Linked DNA regions of Homo sapiens: region 2 is linked to region 1. Evidence: promoter capture Hi-C in 16 types of primary human blood cells and fetal thymus (Javierre and others, 2016). All regions are on one chromosome and are shown on one strand. Each heading gives the region's core, a stretch centred on a gene start or on the middle of the fragment in contact. The rest is flanking DNA. Distances are from core to core; before and after follow the strand shown. Region 1 holds the start of TM6SF2 (transmembrane 6 superfamily member 2). Region 2 has its middle 4.4 kb from the start of TMEM161A.

What was found. Contacts are between HindIII fragments. The CHiCAGO score rates a contact against its expected background, and 5 or more counts as called.
Region 2: a fragment that was not itself captured here is called in contact with the fragment with the promoter of TM6SF2 in region 1 in 1 of 17 cell types (M1 macrophages); the score reaches 6.1 in M1 macrophages.

What each region holds. Positions count from the first base shown.
Region 1 is chr19:19,271,885-19,274,944 of GRCh38, reverse strand. TM6SF2 (transmembrane 6 superfamily member 2) reads left to right here and starts at 1,644. Exons shown (of 10, transcript NM_001001524.3): 1 at 1,644-1,824. The coding sequence starts at 1,730. The HindIII fragment of the contact is 7,826 bases long and covers 1-3,060 here.
Region 2 is chr19:19,141,385-19,144,444 of GRCh38, reverse strand. No RefSeq gene overlaps it. Among named protein-coding and RNA genes, the nearest start is that of TMEM161A, 4.4 kb to the right of the region's middle. The HindIII fragment of the contact is 1,566 bases long and covers 839-2,404 here.

The DNA.
Region 1 (3,060 bases), core at 395-2,894:
AAGTGCTGTGTGCGTGTGCAGGTGCATCCTGTACACGGGACAAGGCCAAGCCCCTAGGCTGAGCTGGGCACAGGCACCCTGGCCTTGTGTGGAGAAGGTGGGGTGGGGGTGGCAGGCAGGGCTGCCTGGAGGAGGGGATGCTGGGGCCCGCTTACAAGAAGGCTCATTTTACAGACAGAAAGCAGGCCTGGGGGGTGTTGACCCTGCTAGAGTTGGGGAAAGTCCAGGGGAACCTGAACTTCACCCATGGGCAGTGGACACCTGGGGAAGGAGGCTGAGTCAGACCTGCGGCCAGAAGACCCTCTTGTGGCCCAGTTCAGGAAGACCTGTGACCCAGTTGGCATCAAGCTAAGGGGCTGCGTGCAGAATGGGGCCTGAGGTAGGGGCAGTGGTTAGAATTTGTGCCAGCTGCAGACTGGGGTCCCGCAGGGCAGGCGTCAGGTGGGCATGGTTCACCTTGCTGTCTGCAGCATCCACAAGTACTCCACATGGGCCAGAGTCTGGTTGGAGGGGGTGACAAAGACAGATGGTCTCCTTATTCTCCCCCCCAATACTGTGGCCCCCTCCCAGCTGTTCAAAACCTCCCACAGCCTCTCACAGCTGTCTCGCTTCTCATCACACCCCAGCAGAACCGACCTCCTTTCCACTGCTCAGTTCCAAGCCTGAGCCACTTTCCTCCCTGCCAGGAACACCGTTCCCAAACTCTTCACCAAACTGGCTCCATCCCGATATTCTAACTTCAGCCCCCACCCGCTAGGACCCCTTCTACCCTCTCCCCGAAATGAAGAACCCTAAACCCGGGACTAGCCTGCAAAGGGACAGCCCCGGAGTCAAAGCCTCACACTTAAAGACCCCTCGCAGTGGCTCACGCCTGTAATCCCAGCTCCTCGGGAGGCTGATGTGGGAGGATCTGTTGAGCCCAGGAGTTTGAAACCAGTCTGGGCAAAAAAGTGAGACCTCTGTCTTTACAAAAAATAACTAGCTGCGCGTGGTGGTGCATACCTGTAGTCCCAACTACTTGGGAGGCTGAGGTAGGAGGATCTCTTGAGGCTGGGAGTTCAAGGAGGAGGGCCACTGCACTCCAGTCTGGGCCACAGAGTGAGACCTCTCAAAAAACAAACAAAAAAACTTCACACCTGCCTGGAAACACGTTTACATTTGTGGCCACCTTATGAAAACTCAAATCTAAGCCCACTGAAAGGCATTTTGCACCCAAGAGCTGGAGGTTGCTCCATCCGTGCGCACAGGGAATGCCGACTTGATCTTTGGGTGGGGATGGGAAACTCTGGGGAATGCAGAGGTTTAGAAGCGCAGAGTCCAGGAGAAAATTTCCTTAGAACGAAGTTGTGGAGGCAGGGGAAAGAGGGGGCACGCCAGGACCTCCAGGGCGCACCCCTTGGCCTAAGAGCAGAAGCATCCCGAGGTGTTGTGTCCCAGCCTTTGACAGTGAGGGAAACTGAGGCTGAGTAGCGGGACGGCCATTGGAGACGAGGGTGTCGATGGTGAGGGGCGAAGGGGCGGGGCAGCTGCCAGGGGGAGGGCCGGGGAGGGGCCTTGGAGGCTCCCTGGGAACACGCAGGGCGGTCACGGCGGCCTGCCCAGGGCGCAGCGGGGTCGACCTTTGTGCGGGGCGGGTCCCTGGCAGCCTCGGCCCGGACTCGCCGCCAACGAGGAGCCGAGCGCCCTGGAGAACGCGTCGGGGCTGAGCCGGGGTCCAGCAGCCGCCGCTATGGACATCCCGCCGCTGGCCGGCAAGATCGCGGCGCTGTCGCTGAGCGCCCTCCCGGTGTCCTACGCGCTCAACCACGTCTCGGCGCTCTCGCAGTGCGTGCGGAGAGGGGCCAGGGCGGCCTTGGGGACAGTGGGGGCGGGCGGGGGCGGGGAGGACTGGAGGTGGGCTGGAGGGAGGATGCGCGGTCCGCGGACCTGGCTTCTGCGAGCCCTGCGCCCCAGCTCAGCTCCGACCCGGCAGGATTGGGGTGGGCCAGAAGAACACCCCCCTCTAACCGGAAGTCCCCTTCCCGCCGGGCTGGAGGCTGGGATGCGGCCGCTCCTGGGATGTTTGTGGCCTGGGAAGAAGGAATGATGAGTCCCCACAAGCCAGAGCTTTGGAGGGTTTCTGGGGTTTTCCCAGGGATGCGCCCTGCCTAGGTTCCAAAGTCACCAAGGGTAAAAGTATTGTCCCAGATAAGGCCCCGGGTACCTGACTCCTGCTCACACACACACACACACACACACACACACACACACACCCTACTCCATTGCCTGTCTCAGGCCTGTGACTTTCCTCTTGTTCAGGGCTGGCTAACCATGTCCCTAGACTCAGTTCCCCCTACTGGTTCCCTTTCCTGGTCCCTGTCTCCTAACCCTAGATCCTAGCCCTGTGGGTCCAGCCACCGGATAGTGGGCATCTGCAAGCCCCTCGTACTTCTAAACCCAGCTCAACCCAAGCCATGGGGTGGAGAGAGTCTTAACCATGAGCCTGGCTCCCTGGGTGGGAATACCCATCTCCATCTCCTGGGATCCTGGGTGAGCCAAGTTCCTCTGGGAGCCTCAGTTCCCTCATCAGTGTAATGGGCACGATCCTAGATCTCATCTCATAGTTACGGTTAAGGATTATAAACTGTGTACAAAGATTTGTCTTGGTCTCATCTGAGTACTATAATGTCATTGTTAGATGGGGTCAGGATGGAAATCTTGGGTTCTGAGGGGATCATGAGAAAATAGGGGCCTGGAGAGTGATGGACAGAGTCTTGAGTGTGACCCTGGACAACTGGACAGTACTCCCATCCTCTCTGGGCCTGGATTTGCCCACCTGGGTTGAGGGCTGCCCAGAGACCTGGCTTCTGTTATCTATGCAACTGGTTGACCTGTCTTATCAGGTTGTGGGTGCAGATCAGGGCAGGGGTAGGGTGGAGTTAATAGAGGCATTTGGACTTTAGCTGGGAGGAGCTGGGAGCGTCAGACAATGAAGTCTACAGAACTGAGCACTCGAGACCCTGTGGCTTGGGAGCTGGGCCTGGCCACAGAGGGGCTTGACGTTGTCGAATGACTGAACAG
Region 2 (3,060 bases), core at 372-2,871, 130 kb after region 1:
TACTTAACATCTGACTTCTTGCCGGGTGCGGTGGCCAAAGCCTGTAATCCTAGCACTTTGGGAAGCCAAAGTGGATGGATGGCTTGGGCCCAGCAGTTTGAGACCAGCCTGGGCAACATACTGACACCCTGATCTCTACAAAAAATTTAAAAAGAAATTAGCTGGGCATGGCTGGCACATTCCTGTAGTCCCAGCTATTCAGGAGGCTGAGGTGGGAGAATTGCCTGAGCATAGGAAGTCGAGGCTGCAGCAAGCTGTGATTGAGCCATTGCACTCCACCGTGGGCAACAGAGCGAGACCCTATCTCAAAAATAACATCAAAAACAACGACAACATAAAAAACTGACTTCTAGCCGGGCACGGTGGCTCACACCTGTAATCCTAGCACTTTGGGGGGCCAAGGCGGGCAGATCACTTGAGGCCAGAAATTTGAGACCATCTCTACTAAAAATACAAAAATTAGCTGGGCCTCATGGCCCATGCCTGTAATCCCAGCTACTTGGGAGGCCGAGGCACGAGAATCACTTGAACTCAAGAGGTGGTGGTTGCAGTTAGCCGAGATCCAGATCGTGCCACTGCATTCCAGCCTGCACAACAGAGCAAGACTCCGTCTCAAAAAAAAAAAAAAAAAAAAAATTACTTCTTGCCTGTAATCCCAGTCCTTTGGGAGGCTGAGGAGGAAGGATGCCTTGAGCCCAGGAGTTGGAGGCTGCAGTGGGCTATTACCAGCCCACTACAATCCAGCCTGAGTGACAGAACAAGACATTGTCTCTAAAAATAACAGTAATAAAATTTAAAAGATCTGCCTCTGCCATGTTCTGCTCATCTCTTTGAAGCTTTTCCTCATCCTTAGAAGGAAGTTGGGCTCCTCAGCTGCCCTACCCTAGTCTGGCCTGGTCTCCTATCCCTGTCCCAGCCTCTCCAGTACCTTAGAAATATTTGCAGTACCAACATGTGACCCTACTGGTCTTTCCTGGAGCGCCTCCCTCAACCCCCAACTTGTCTCCTTTTTAAACTCCTTCCCACCCTCCAAGGCCCAGCTCTGCCTCTCTTCCTCCATGACGCCTTCTACACTGTCCCAAGCTGAGAAACACCTTTGTGAGTTGGAGTTCACAGATTTGGACAGGAAGACGGAAAACATGAGTGTTGAGATCAAGACTTACAAGATCCGCCTTGGCCGGGGACAGTGGCTCACCCCTGTAATCCAAATACTTTGAGAGGCTGAGGTGGGAGGATGGCCTAAGCCCAGGAGTTCAAGACTAGCTTGGGCAACATGGTGAATCCCATCTCTTAAAAAAAAAAAAAAATTAGCCAGGCGTGGCAGTGCACACCTCTAGTCCCAGCTTCTCAGGAGGCTGAGGTGGGAGAATCACCTGAGCCCGGGAAGTCAAGGCTGCAGTGAGCCATGATTGAGCCACTGCACTCCAGCCTGGGCAACAGAGCAAAAGACCCCGTCTCAAAGAGTAAAAAAACAAAAACAAAAACAGGCCGGGCATGGTGGCTCACACCTGTAATCCCAGCACTTTGGGAGGCTGAGGCAGGTGGATCACTTGAGGTCAGGAGTTCGAGACCAGCCTGACCAATGTGGTGAAACCTCGTCTCTATTAAAAATACGAAAATTAGCCGGGCATGGTAGTGTGTGCCTGTAGTCCCAGATACTCAGGAGGCTGAGGCAGGAGAATCACTTGAACCCGGGAAGTGGAGGTTGCAGTGAGCCGAAATCGCGCCACTGCACTCCAGCCTGGGCAACAGAGCAAGACTCTATCTCAAAAACCAAACAAACAAACAAACTCACCTGCTTTCCAATCACTCTGCCAAGATCCAAAGCTGAGCTGGTTGGCACAGCTCAGCCAGAATGGGCGGGGTACGTTGACTGACAATTTCAAAATCCTTTCTGTCACTCAGCGCCCCAGGGAGAGATTTCTTCAGTAAAACTGAGCACCTTGCATTTCACCCTTAGCGCACACAGTCCTAGACAAGATGATGGGCGGGACGCCTTTTAAGGGATAGGGAGACTGGACAAAGTATATAAGTGACAGAACCCGGAGGGGGCACTTGTTTATACGGCGGAGTATAGGATGCCATCTGCACCCCAGACCCCAGCTAAGGTTTGTCCTACGTCATCTTCGCCACCCTCATCCCCAGTGAGGTGGGGGCTTTGGGGCCCCAGTTTCCAGGATAGGGATATGGCATGATCAAAGTGTGTAAAAGCCCCTCCCCAGGCTCCCGTGGCAGGGGGCATTGGGAGCTGAGGGGAGGCAGTGCCCCCTGGAATGATCACTCTCTGTGTGTGCGTGGAGGCAAACCCACCAGGACTCCAGAACGGCTCGGAGGTGGAGGTGAAGGGAAGAGCGTGCCGTGGGTGACTGGAAGCTCCCATTTCATCCTCTGTGCTGTGGAAGCTTGTAGGGAATGAGACTTGGATGGGGTGAACTTGAAGCCTCTGCAGAGTGTCCAAGTGCGGCTAGAGATTTCGCTCACCCAACCCAGACTCAGGTCTTTTTTCTTTTTCTTTTCTACTTACTTATTTTTATTATTTTGTTTTGTTTTTGTTTTTTGTTTTGAGAGAGAGTCTCGCTCTGTCATGCAGGCTGGAGTGCAATGGCACGATCTCGGCTCACTGCAGCCTCTGCCTCCCAGGTTCAAGCGATTCTCCTGCCTCAGCCTCCTGAGTAGCTGGGACTACAGGCATGTGCCACCATGCTCAGCTAATTTTTTGTATCTTTAGTGGAGACGGGGTTTCACTATGTTGGCAAGGCTGGTCTCAAACTCCTGACCTCAGGTAATCCACCCACCTCGGTCTCCCAAAGTGCTGGGATTACAGGTGTGAGCCACCGCTCCTGGCCTAATTTTGTTTTTATTATTATTGGGTTTTTTTTTTTGTTTTTTTGTTCTGAGACAAAGTCTCACTCTGTTGCCCAGGCTGGAGTGCAGTGGCGGGATCTCGGCTCACTGCAGCTTCTGCCTCCCGGGTTCAAACGATTCTCGTCCTTCCCAAATAGCTCGGATTACAGGCGACTGCCACCACACCCGGCTAATTTTTGTATTTTCAGTAGAGAT